3 separate regions of the Homo sapiens genome follow, and all the other regions are linked to region 1. The links are contacts of gene promoters, found by promoter capture Hi-C in human tissues and cell types (Jung and others, 2019). All regions are on one chromosome and are shown on one strand. The core of a region is centred on a gene start or on the middle of the fragment in contact, and the rest is flanking DNA. Distances in the headings are between cores, read along the strand shown. Region 1 holds the start of PLA2G12B (phospholipase A2 group XIIB). Region 2 has its middle 50 kb from the start of PLA2G12B. Region 3 overlaps OIT3 (oncoprotein induced transcript 3).

Region 1 (3,003 bases), core at 255-2,754:
ATTACCTCCTAGTCACTCTTAGTGTATAAGGAAGCGATTTTCCCCACTCAAAAAGGAATAGAGAGACTTAAGGGTGAGTCCGGGAAGTATGTAGTTTTTTTGTGCATCTCTTCAAAGCTGACTTTTTCTCTGTTGAGTATTTGGAGAAAATATTTCTCAAATGTGTTTTCCTGTTAGGCTAAATTGACTCACCATTTTCATTTCTAATCCCTTGATGAGATAGTTGATAAATTAAACCATAAAACTAATGCTACCTGAGACCTGAGACTGTGCATGCTTTGGAAAACGTTTTCATGCGCATTGGCAATTACACGATGCCACCCAGCTTCAAGGCCTGGGGCTCCACATTTTGCTCCCCTTACATTAACTTCCAGGGCCCCTGGGACCAGGGGCTCTGTGCCGGCAGCCAGGTGTGCACCTTATATCTGTGTACCCCCAGCCATATTCAGGCAAGGTAGGGGAAGTGCTCCTGCCAGCTCACAAATCTGCATCTGGCGCCAAGTCCAGGGGACAGCCCCGGGATCCCTGGTGAGCCACGAACCCTTCCTCTCCACAGCATGCCTGTCGTTGCCGAGGCTGCAGGCAGGGACAGCTCCCTTGAGAAAGTCCAGCAAATTGATGCCAGTCAGGGACTGAGAGCTGGGAGGACGGTGTGAACTGCAGCAGGGGGAAGGGAGAATTTGTTTCCAAGCTGAGCACAGAGCAGCTGAGGAGGTGGTTTTGCCCCATGGCAGATTTTTCTCTGAATGTTCGGCTTCAGTTTTCATCCCTGGGAACTCCTCACAGAGGCCTCTCATACCCACCCTCCTTCTTCCCACCCCAGGTACCCTTTTTTCCTAAGAACTGCCTCACAACAAACTCATTAAAATGGCCCAGGGAAGGTTTCCCAGATACAATACAGGAAGCTCAGTGAAATGTGAGTTTGAGATAAACAACGAAGAATTTGTCAGGATAAGTATGTCCCAGATATTTCACTGGACATACTTATACTAATGACTTATTTGTTGTTTATTTGGATTTCACATTTCACTGGGTGTCCTACATTTTTATCTGCTAAATCTGGCAGCTCTAAGTGGATAACAGGAAAAAGTGCAAGACAGATCGTGACCTCTCTGGGGCTGTCCATGGGTCCACCAGCAACAGTTTTTACAGAAAGAGAAACCGCACACTCACCATATCGGCACCTGTACTGACAGACTCCATTCTTCCCTCCCAGCAGCTCCAGAAAAGAATCGAAGTAGCTATTGACGGATTCAAAGCTTCCCCGGAGGTGCCGAAGGCCCCAGTCTGAATAGGACTCCTCCGTGTCAGGGCTCGTGTCGCTCTGAGCCAGGCCACCCCCAAGGCTGAGCCACAAAACCAAGAAGCCACTGGCCAGCTTCATCCTGCAGCCAGGTAGGTACTGGCTTCTCTCCTCAAACCCCAGCCAGTGTCCCAGAATTCCAGGGACAAACCCCCTACCCAGATGTCAGGCAGGACTGGGAAAGGGATTATCTGGAACATTCAATCTGTCTGTTCCCCAGAGGTGGACTTTAAACATAGCTATGGAGGTTGGGATGAGATCAGGGCAATTAGAAAGAGGGCAAAGGTTAGGGAGTGGGAGGGCCAGGGAGAGAGAACATTTCAAAGTGGATTCTACCACCCTGGAGGGAGGGAGATGTTAGCCAGCTTCTGAGACGCAGGAACGGTGAAGGATTCGGAGTTCTACCCCGACCAGCTTGTTAAGCTGTTGATCAGTTACAAGTGTGGCTCTTCAGGGCCAGCCTCTTGATAGAAGAGCTTGACCGAAGGTCCTAGCCACACCCCTCAGCCAGCTACCTACATAGTCTCCAAGGAGAGTCAGGAGGATGTGTACAGGGCCCAGGAAAGCCCCAGCGGTAGGAATTAATAGTCACTTTACCAAGGGTCACGATAGTGTCAGAGTAGGTACCAAGTGTGTGTTAAGCAGAAGTTCAGATTTGAGACCCCAGCTTCTGCTGTGGAACCCACCTGGCTCTGACGCATAAATCCTCTAATTTGGCAGAGCTCCCAGATGTAGCCATCTGAGTGCAGGGACATTTTGGCTTCTATTTACAGCAGTATCTCTGTTTACACTCAGCATAAGTGGATCATAAGACAAGATCTACAGATGGTCCAAGGACAATTCTGGGGGCACTCGGCTCTCCTGGTGGTGTTTTTCCTTTGAGTTTCTTAGAAGTCAGAGGGTTTATCAAATAGTCTATTTGGGAGTGTAGGCTTTTAAGACTGTTGACTGAAGTCTAGTGTTTTGGCATCGTTTTCAGTTTAGACTGCTTTTAGTCGTGTGAAGAAATGCCATCTATAAAATCACTAGTCTAGGACCGGGCATGGTGGTGCATGCCTGTAATCCCAGCATTTTGGGAGGCCGAGGCGTTTGGATCACCTGAGGTCAGGAGTTTGAGGCCAGCCTGACCAACATAGCGAAACCCCGTCTCCACTAAAAATACAAAAATTAGCCAGGCAAGGTAGCAGCCGCCTGTAATCCCAGCTACTAGGAAGGCTAAGGCAGGAGAATCACTTGAACCCAGGAGGCGGAGGTTGCAGTGAGCCGAGAGCACGCCATTGCACTCCAGCATGGGCGACAAGAGCGAAACTCTGTCTCAAAAAAATAGTAATAATAAAATAATCACCAGTCTATAAAAATGATACCTTTATGGACCACATGAATCATTTAGCTCCTTTCTCAAATGTTTGTCTGGAAAGCCCCATGGAAAATAATGAATTAAATGAATTAATTTCTTCATTTTCAGTAAATGTGTTTGGCTGAAGACTCAGACTCCAGGAAGGGCAGTGGTTAAAAATTATTCATAGTCACAACAATGCCACCCAATATTTTAAAGCATCTATACTTTTTCAAACCACTTTCATGCATATGCACATACACAGAGGCACACACATACACATGCACATATGCACAAATGTTCATGCCAGTTTCATGAAGCAGATTAAATAGTCCCATTTGGGGGTGAGAAAACTGATGCAGAG
Region 2 (3,003 bases), core at 194-2,693, 50 kb after region 1:
TAGCCTAGGTATGTAGCAGACTATACCATCTAAGTTTGTGTAAGTACACTCTGTGATGTTCCCACAACAACAATCTTCTAATGATGATGCATTTTCCTCTCATTAAGCAACACATAACTAATTTCAACAGAACAGTGCTACAATGAAAGTTCAACAAGACCTCAAAAGCAGACGATGGAGGACTTCCACTCCTTTTGGTTGCTCCTTTTACTTAACATCTGCTTGTATATGTTATTTACAGTAAGGCATTCTCATCAGTTTTCCTGAGTAGAAATTTATATTTAACTTAAGGCTACATTTACACAGAAAGTAAACTTCATAGTCCTCAAATTTCAGAAAGTAGGCAGCCAAAGACCTTTACTGGTCTACTACAGTTAATTTTGCAAAATATCATTAAAGTGGTTGAATAATATCCAAGGACATTAGGAGCACAGGATTTTGAAATTTTATTCTGATAAATCTGGTAATTTATGGTACTCTATTAACTCATTCCTTTTTGTCTAAGTTACCCAATATTGTTCCCTCTAAAACACTAACTTTTACTATAGTAAAAATAACCACCGCCAAGAGATTGGTCCTTGTGTTGCTGGCCATCTGGATTAAGATGTCATTTTTCCCATTCTGCTTTCTCCCAGCAATCTTCATTTCATAATTCTGTCTGTTCAAGTGATTTATAATTAATCATAATTTGGTGTATGTGTTTTAGAATCACAGTTTTTTTTTTTTTTTTTTTTTGAGACAGGGTCTTGCTCTGTTGCCCAGGCTTGAGTACAGTGGCACAAGCACAGCTCACTGCAGCCTTGACCCCCAGGCTCAAGGGATCCTCCCACCTCAGCCTGCTCAAGTAGCTGGGACCACAGGCATATGCCACTACACCTGGGTAACTTTTTTATTTTTAGCAGAGATAGGGTCTTGCTATGTTGCTCAGGCAGGTCTCAAATTCCTGGGTTCAAGAGATCCTCCCACCTTGGCCTCCCAGTGTGCTGGGATTACAGGCATACACCACTGTGCCCAGCCTATAAATTTCTTAACAGCAATCCAGTCATTCAATAGTTTAGTCCATTGGGCTCTGCATAGAAGCTGTTCATTTTTCAGTTATATGGACTTAAGTGGTATGGAAGTTACATATAGCAGTCAACACATGGCTACGTAAAGATACTTAGATTCTTTTAAGCAGCAATAAGATTTCATTTATATACACACACACATATATTAGTTTATAAATTATATATATGTGTTGATTTACTATTTGTAACTTCTCCACACTCTCACACTGTAATAACCATTTTATTTTTTTTTGAGACGGAGTCTTGCTCTGTTGCCCAGGCTGGAGTGCACTGGTGCGATCTCAGCTCACGGCAACCTCTGCCTCCCAGGTTCAAGTGATTCTCTCACCTCAGCCTCCTGAGTAGCTGGGATTATGGGCACCTGCCACCATGCCTGGCTAATTTTTTGTATTTTTAGTAAAGACGGGGTTTCAACATGTTGGCCAGGCTGGTCTCAAACTCCTGATCTCAGATGATCCACCTGCCTCGGCCTCCCAAAGTGCTGGGATTACAGGCATGAGCCACCATGCCTGCCCAATAACCATTTTATTATAATTTCACTGAGGTAGATGATTGCTTCTTTTATTACTGCATTTACCATTCAGCTTTCCAAAGAATCGTAAAGTCAGTTCACTGCTCTTTTTATAATATTACTAGGTTATTACCATCTAGTTATCACATTTGCTTACCCCACTGTTAAGATGTTCTGGTGGATACTTCCGTTAACTCCATGTTGGTGATAACTCCCTATTTAAAGTTAATAAGAATAAAAGTTAGTTAATGAATGATGAAACTTCCAATATGGAAGGAAAGGCTTAGGGTTGGTGAGGAAACAACAGTTTCCACATTTTCCAGGGTAGTTCCAGCCCTCCTTTATGTGAAAGTTCAGCATTAAAAGAAATAACAGAATTGCAGTAATGGAACTAAAAGCTTCATATTGGATTTTTCCCTCTTTTCATTTGGAAAGAAAAATCATTGGTAATTATAAAACTTTAAAGGGTTCTGTATGATCTAATTCTGAAAGAGTTTAATAATTCCCACGTGGGGTTCCAAGTTGAATATAATGAAATTTGTAAGATTATGGAATACGTAATTTCCTTCTGAAAGACACTTGTATTCTACTTTCTATAACACACATGGCAATAAACAGTATTTTCCATTCTTTGAACCCCTATATTATGTCTACATTTTTGAATTTTCTGCTTCCATCCACTTTACTAAAAAATTTTTTTAAAAATCATCAATGGTCACAAAATCTGAGTGGATCAAAGTGCTGAACTTAATTCTCCATATTTCTAAAACACTTATATTGGAACAAAGGCTAGTCAGAAGAAAGGAGCTTCAGAGTTCACTTAAAAGTGGGTAAAAATACCTACTTTCCCAGAGAATCAAACCAAATTCTTCCTTCAGTATTTAAATACTGCATAAAGTATAAAGAACTCTTGTGTGAACTAGGATTCACCATAAGTAATGTAAATAGTCTAAAGCATCAATTAACTTACTTCATTAAGCTCACAGCTATTACCACACCATATTTCTTTTTTTTTCCTTTTAATTACATTTATTTTAATGCTGAATTTATTCCCGTGCCATAAGTTTTTGTTTCTTCAGTTTCTTCTGGGATATCTTTTTCTTCTGGGCAACCTCCTCTTCTGGTTTAGGAACAATCTGTTCCTTTTCAGTAAAGATCATCTCAATGTGGCAGGAAGAGCTCATGTATGGGTTAATCCATGAGCTCTGTAAGTCCGTTGGTGCATCTTAGGTGCTTTGTTCACTTGGATATGCTCAATGACCAGAGAATCTACCCTTAAGTTCAGCATTACTCTCTGTGTTTTTAAGCACGTGCAGCAAAAATTCAGCACTCTTTTTGGGCCACCGACCTTGTGGCCCAAACAGGCTAAGTGGTGAGCATTTTAGTTAAGAAGGCCCAGTGTTGTTATGCAGGACTTTGTTAAAA
Region 3 (3,003 bases), core at 294-2,793, 39 kb before region 1:
GTGCAAGAGTTCACACAAGGTCATGCTGCCGCAGTATCACCAGGTCTAAAACTCCTGAAAGAAACATAACAGGCGGAAGCTGTCCTTTTCTAAAATACCAGAGCTTTGAATTCGCTGATTCTGCATAGATCAGGTATTATGAGTAACACTCCAAAGGAATATGTGGGTCTGCCCAAGAAGTAGTGTGTAAAACTCTTTTTTTTTTTTAAATTTTGAGATGGAGTTTTGCTTTTGTTGCCCAGGCTGGCAATGGTACAATCTTGACTCACTGCAACCTCTGCCTCCCAGGTTCAAGCGATTCTCCTGCCTCAGCCTCCCAAGTAGCTGGGATTACAGGCATCTGCCACCATGCCTGGCTAATTTTTGTATCTTTAGTAGAGACGGGGTTTCACCATGTTGGTCAGGCTGGTCTTGAACTCCTGACCTCAGGTGATCCACCGGCCTCAGACCCCCAAAGTGCTGGGATTATAGGTGTAAGCCACTGTGCCCAGCCCTTTTTTTTTGGTATTATTTTCTTATTTATTAAAAAGTACACAACAAAGAGCTAGGCGGTATAATACCAATAGTTAGAATATAAAGCCATGTATAATAATGGGCTAATTAGGAGGTAGAAAGAAGTTCTAAATGAGAGCCATCTGAGTTTAAGCTACAGTTGATTCTTGTTATTCACAGTAGTTATGTTCTACAAAGCTGCCACAAGCAATAAATTAGGGAATACTGAAGCTAATTTCTTTAGCAATTAAGTATTGCTCCTAGGGGAAACACTGGGTTAGGTTCCTGTAATCCTCTGGTTGCAACATTTTTGTTAACTGATCAGTTAACAGTCTTGTTCTGTGTGTGTTTCTGTTTAAAGATACCTTATTTAACATACATTATAGATTCATTAACATTGCACTCATGGCCAGCAGCACCGCAACTCATGTCTGGAGTTTATCAAACACATATTTTCCCATTTTCCCTGTAAGGATCTCATAGCCTCCTTGTGCTTAGGATCACTAGATAGCCCATCTGCACTGCATTTGGGGGTCCCTTTAAACAGCAAAATCTCCCACGAAAGCACAAACATGCAAAAAACATGCCATTCTGTAGATCACAAAAAGGATCCTGGTTTACAATGAGAGCTAAAACAAGAAGGCAGTGGTGCCTTGTTGGACCTCAGCTGGGAATGTGCCACTGTGCACATTCTGTGAATAACCTCAGAAGCATAGTGAGTACTGATTTTGGGGTTATACATAAATATTAGCTGCTAGGTGAATTCACACATACCAAATCCATGAATAATGGGCATCAACTGTACATGGTAAACCTGAGGGGCTTCATAGAAGAGATGAGTTTGAGTGAGGCATTGAAGGGCGGGTAAATGAAGATGGGAATGATGGGTGAGGAAAGATGTCAGCCCCTAATGAGTTCTACTCTCATCGCACTCATCCCTTCCTGACCATAGATCATTTCTTACTCTCGTATACCATACTGTCTTTGAAGCTTAGTTTTATTTTTATTTTTATTTTAAGTTCAGGGGTACATGTGCAGCATGTGCAGGTTTGTTACATATGTAAATGTGTGTCATGGGGGTTGGTTATACAGATTATTTCATCACCCAGGTATTAAGCCTACTACCCGTTAGCTATATTTCCTGCTTCTCTCCCCCCTCCTACCTTCCACTCTCTGATAGGCCCCAGTGTGTGCTGTTCCACACTATGTGTCAGTGTGTTCTCATCATTTAGCTCCCACTTATAAGTGAGAACATGTGGTATTTGGTTTTCTGTTCCTGTGTTAGTTGGCTAAGGATAATGGCCTCCAGCTCCATCCACTCCCTGCAAAGGACATGATCTCATTCTTTTTTTGTGGCTGCAAGTATTCCATGGTGTATATGTACCACATTTTCTTTACCCAGCCTATCATTGATGGCATTTAGGTTGATTCCATGTCTTTGCTCTTGTGAATAGTGCTGCAGTAAACATACACGTGCATTACATGTGTCTTTATAATAGGATGATTTATAATCCTTTGGGTATATACCCAGTAATGGCATTGCTAGGTCAAAGGGTAGTTCTGTCTTCAGGTCTTTGAGGAAGCACCACACGGTGTTCCACAATGGTTGAACTAATTTACACTCCCACCAACAGTGTAAAAACATTCCTTTTTCTCCACAACCTCACCAGCATGTTATTTTCTGACTTTTTAATAGTAGCCATTCTGACTGGTGTGAGATGATATCTCATTGTGGTTTTGATTTGCATTTCTGTAATAATCAGTGATGTTGAGCTTTTTTTTCATATGCTTGTTGGCCACATGTATGTCTTCTTTTGAGACGTGTCTGCTCATGTCCTTTTCCCACGTTTTAATGTTTTTTTCTTATAAATTTCTTTAAGTTTCTTGTAGATGCTGGATATTAGACCTTCATCAGAGAAAAAAATTTTTCTCCCATTCTGTAGGTTGTCTGTTCACTCTGATGATAGCTTCTTTTGCTGTGTAGAAGCTCTTTAGTTTAATTAGATCCCATTTGCCAATGTTTGCTTTTATTGCAATTGCTTTTGGCATCTTCATCATGAAATCTTTGCTTGTGCCTCTGTCTCCAATGGTACTGCCTAGGTTGTCTTCCAGGATTTTTATAGTTTTGGGTTTTACATTTAAGGTTTTTTTTTTACTTTATTAAAATACTGAGTTTTATTTCATGTGTATATTTTTGTCTCCCCATCGTTTCCATGCCCAACCACCGCTACTACGATGTCCTATCATAACATTCCATACATACTTAAACCAAAGCAAAGGGTGGAGTTCCATCTTTAAAAACTAAACAGGCATTTTGGACAACACATTCTTGGCAATGGAACCTGGACAACATTTATCAAACATGGTAGGGAAAGTTCTCACTCTGCATTATAAAAGGGACAGCCAGATATCAACTGTTACAGAAATGAAATAAGATGGAAAATTTTTAACAAATTGTTTAAACTATTTTCTTAAAGAGACTTCCTCCACTGCCAGAGATCTTGAATAGCC

The links. Contacts are between HindIII fragments. The study calls those that stand out against the background at their distance.
Region 2: a fragment that was not itself captured here is called in contact with the fragment with the promoter of PLA2G12B in region 1 in 1 of the 25 tissues and cell types used here (adrenal gland).
Region 3: a fragment that was not itself captured here is called in contact with the fragment with the promoter of PLA2G12B in region 1 in 1 of the 25 tissues and cell types used here (pancreas).

Annotation. Positions count from the first base shown.
Region 1 is chr10:72,953,302-72,956,304 of GRCh38, forward strand. PLA2G12B (phospholipase A2 group XIIB) reads right to left here and starts at 1,505. Exons shown (of 4, transcript NM_032562.5): 1 at 1,174-1,505. The coding sequence starts at 1,384. The HindIII fragment of the contact is 10,065 bases long and covers 1-3,003 here.
Region 2 is chr10:73,003,207-73,006,209 of GRCh38, forward strand. It overlaps the pseudogene RPL17P50. Among named protein-coding and RNA genes, the nearest start is that of PLA2G12B, 50 kb to the left of the region's middle. The HindIII fragment of the contact is 5,315 bases long and covers 1-3,003 here.
Region 3 is chr10:72,914,673-72,917,675 of GRCh38, forward strand. All of the region lies in intron 6 of OIT3 (oncoprotein induced transcript 3), which reads left to right. It also overlaps the pseudogene NPM1P24. Among named protein-coding and RNA genes, the nearest start is that of OIT3, 22 kb to the left of the region's middle. The HindIII fragment of the contact is 3,063 bases long and covers 13-3,003 here.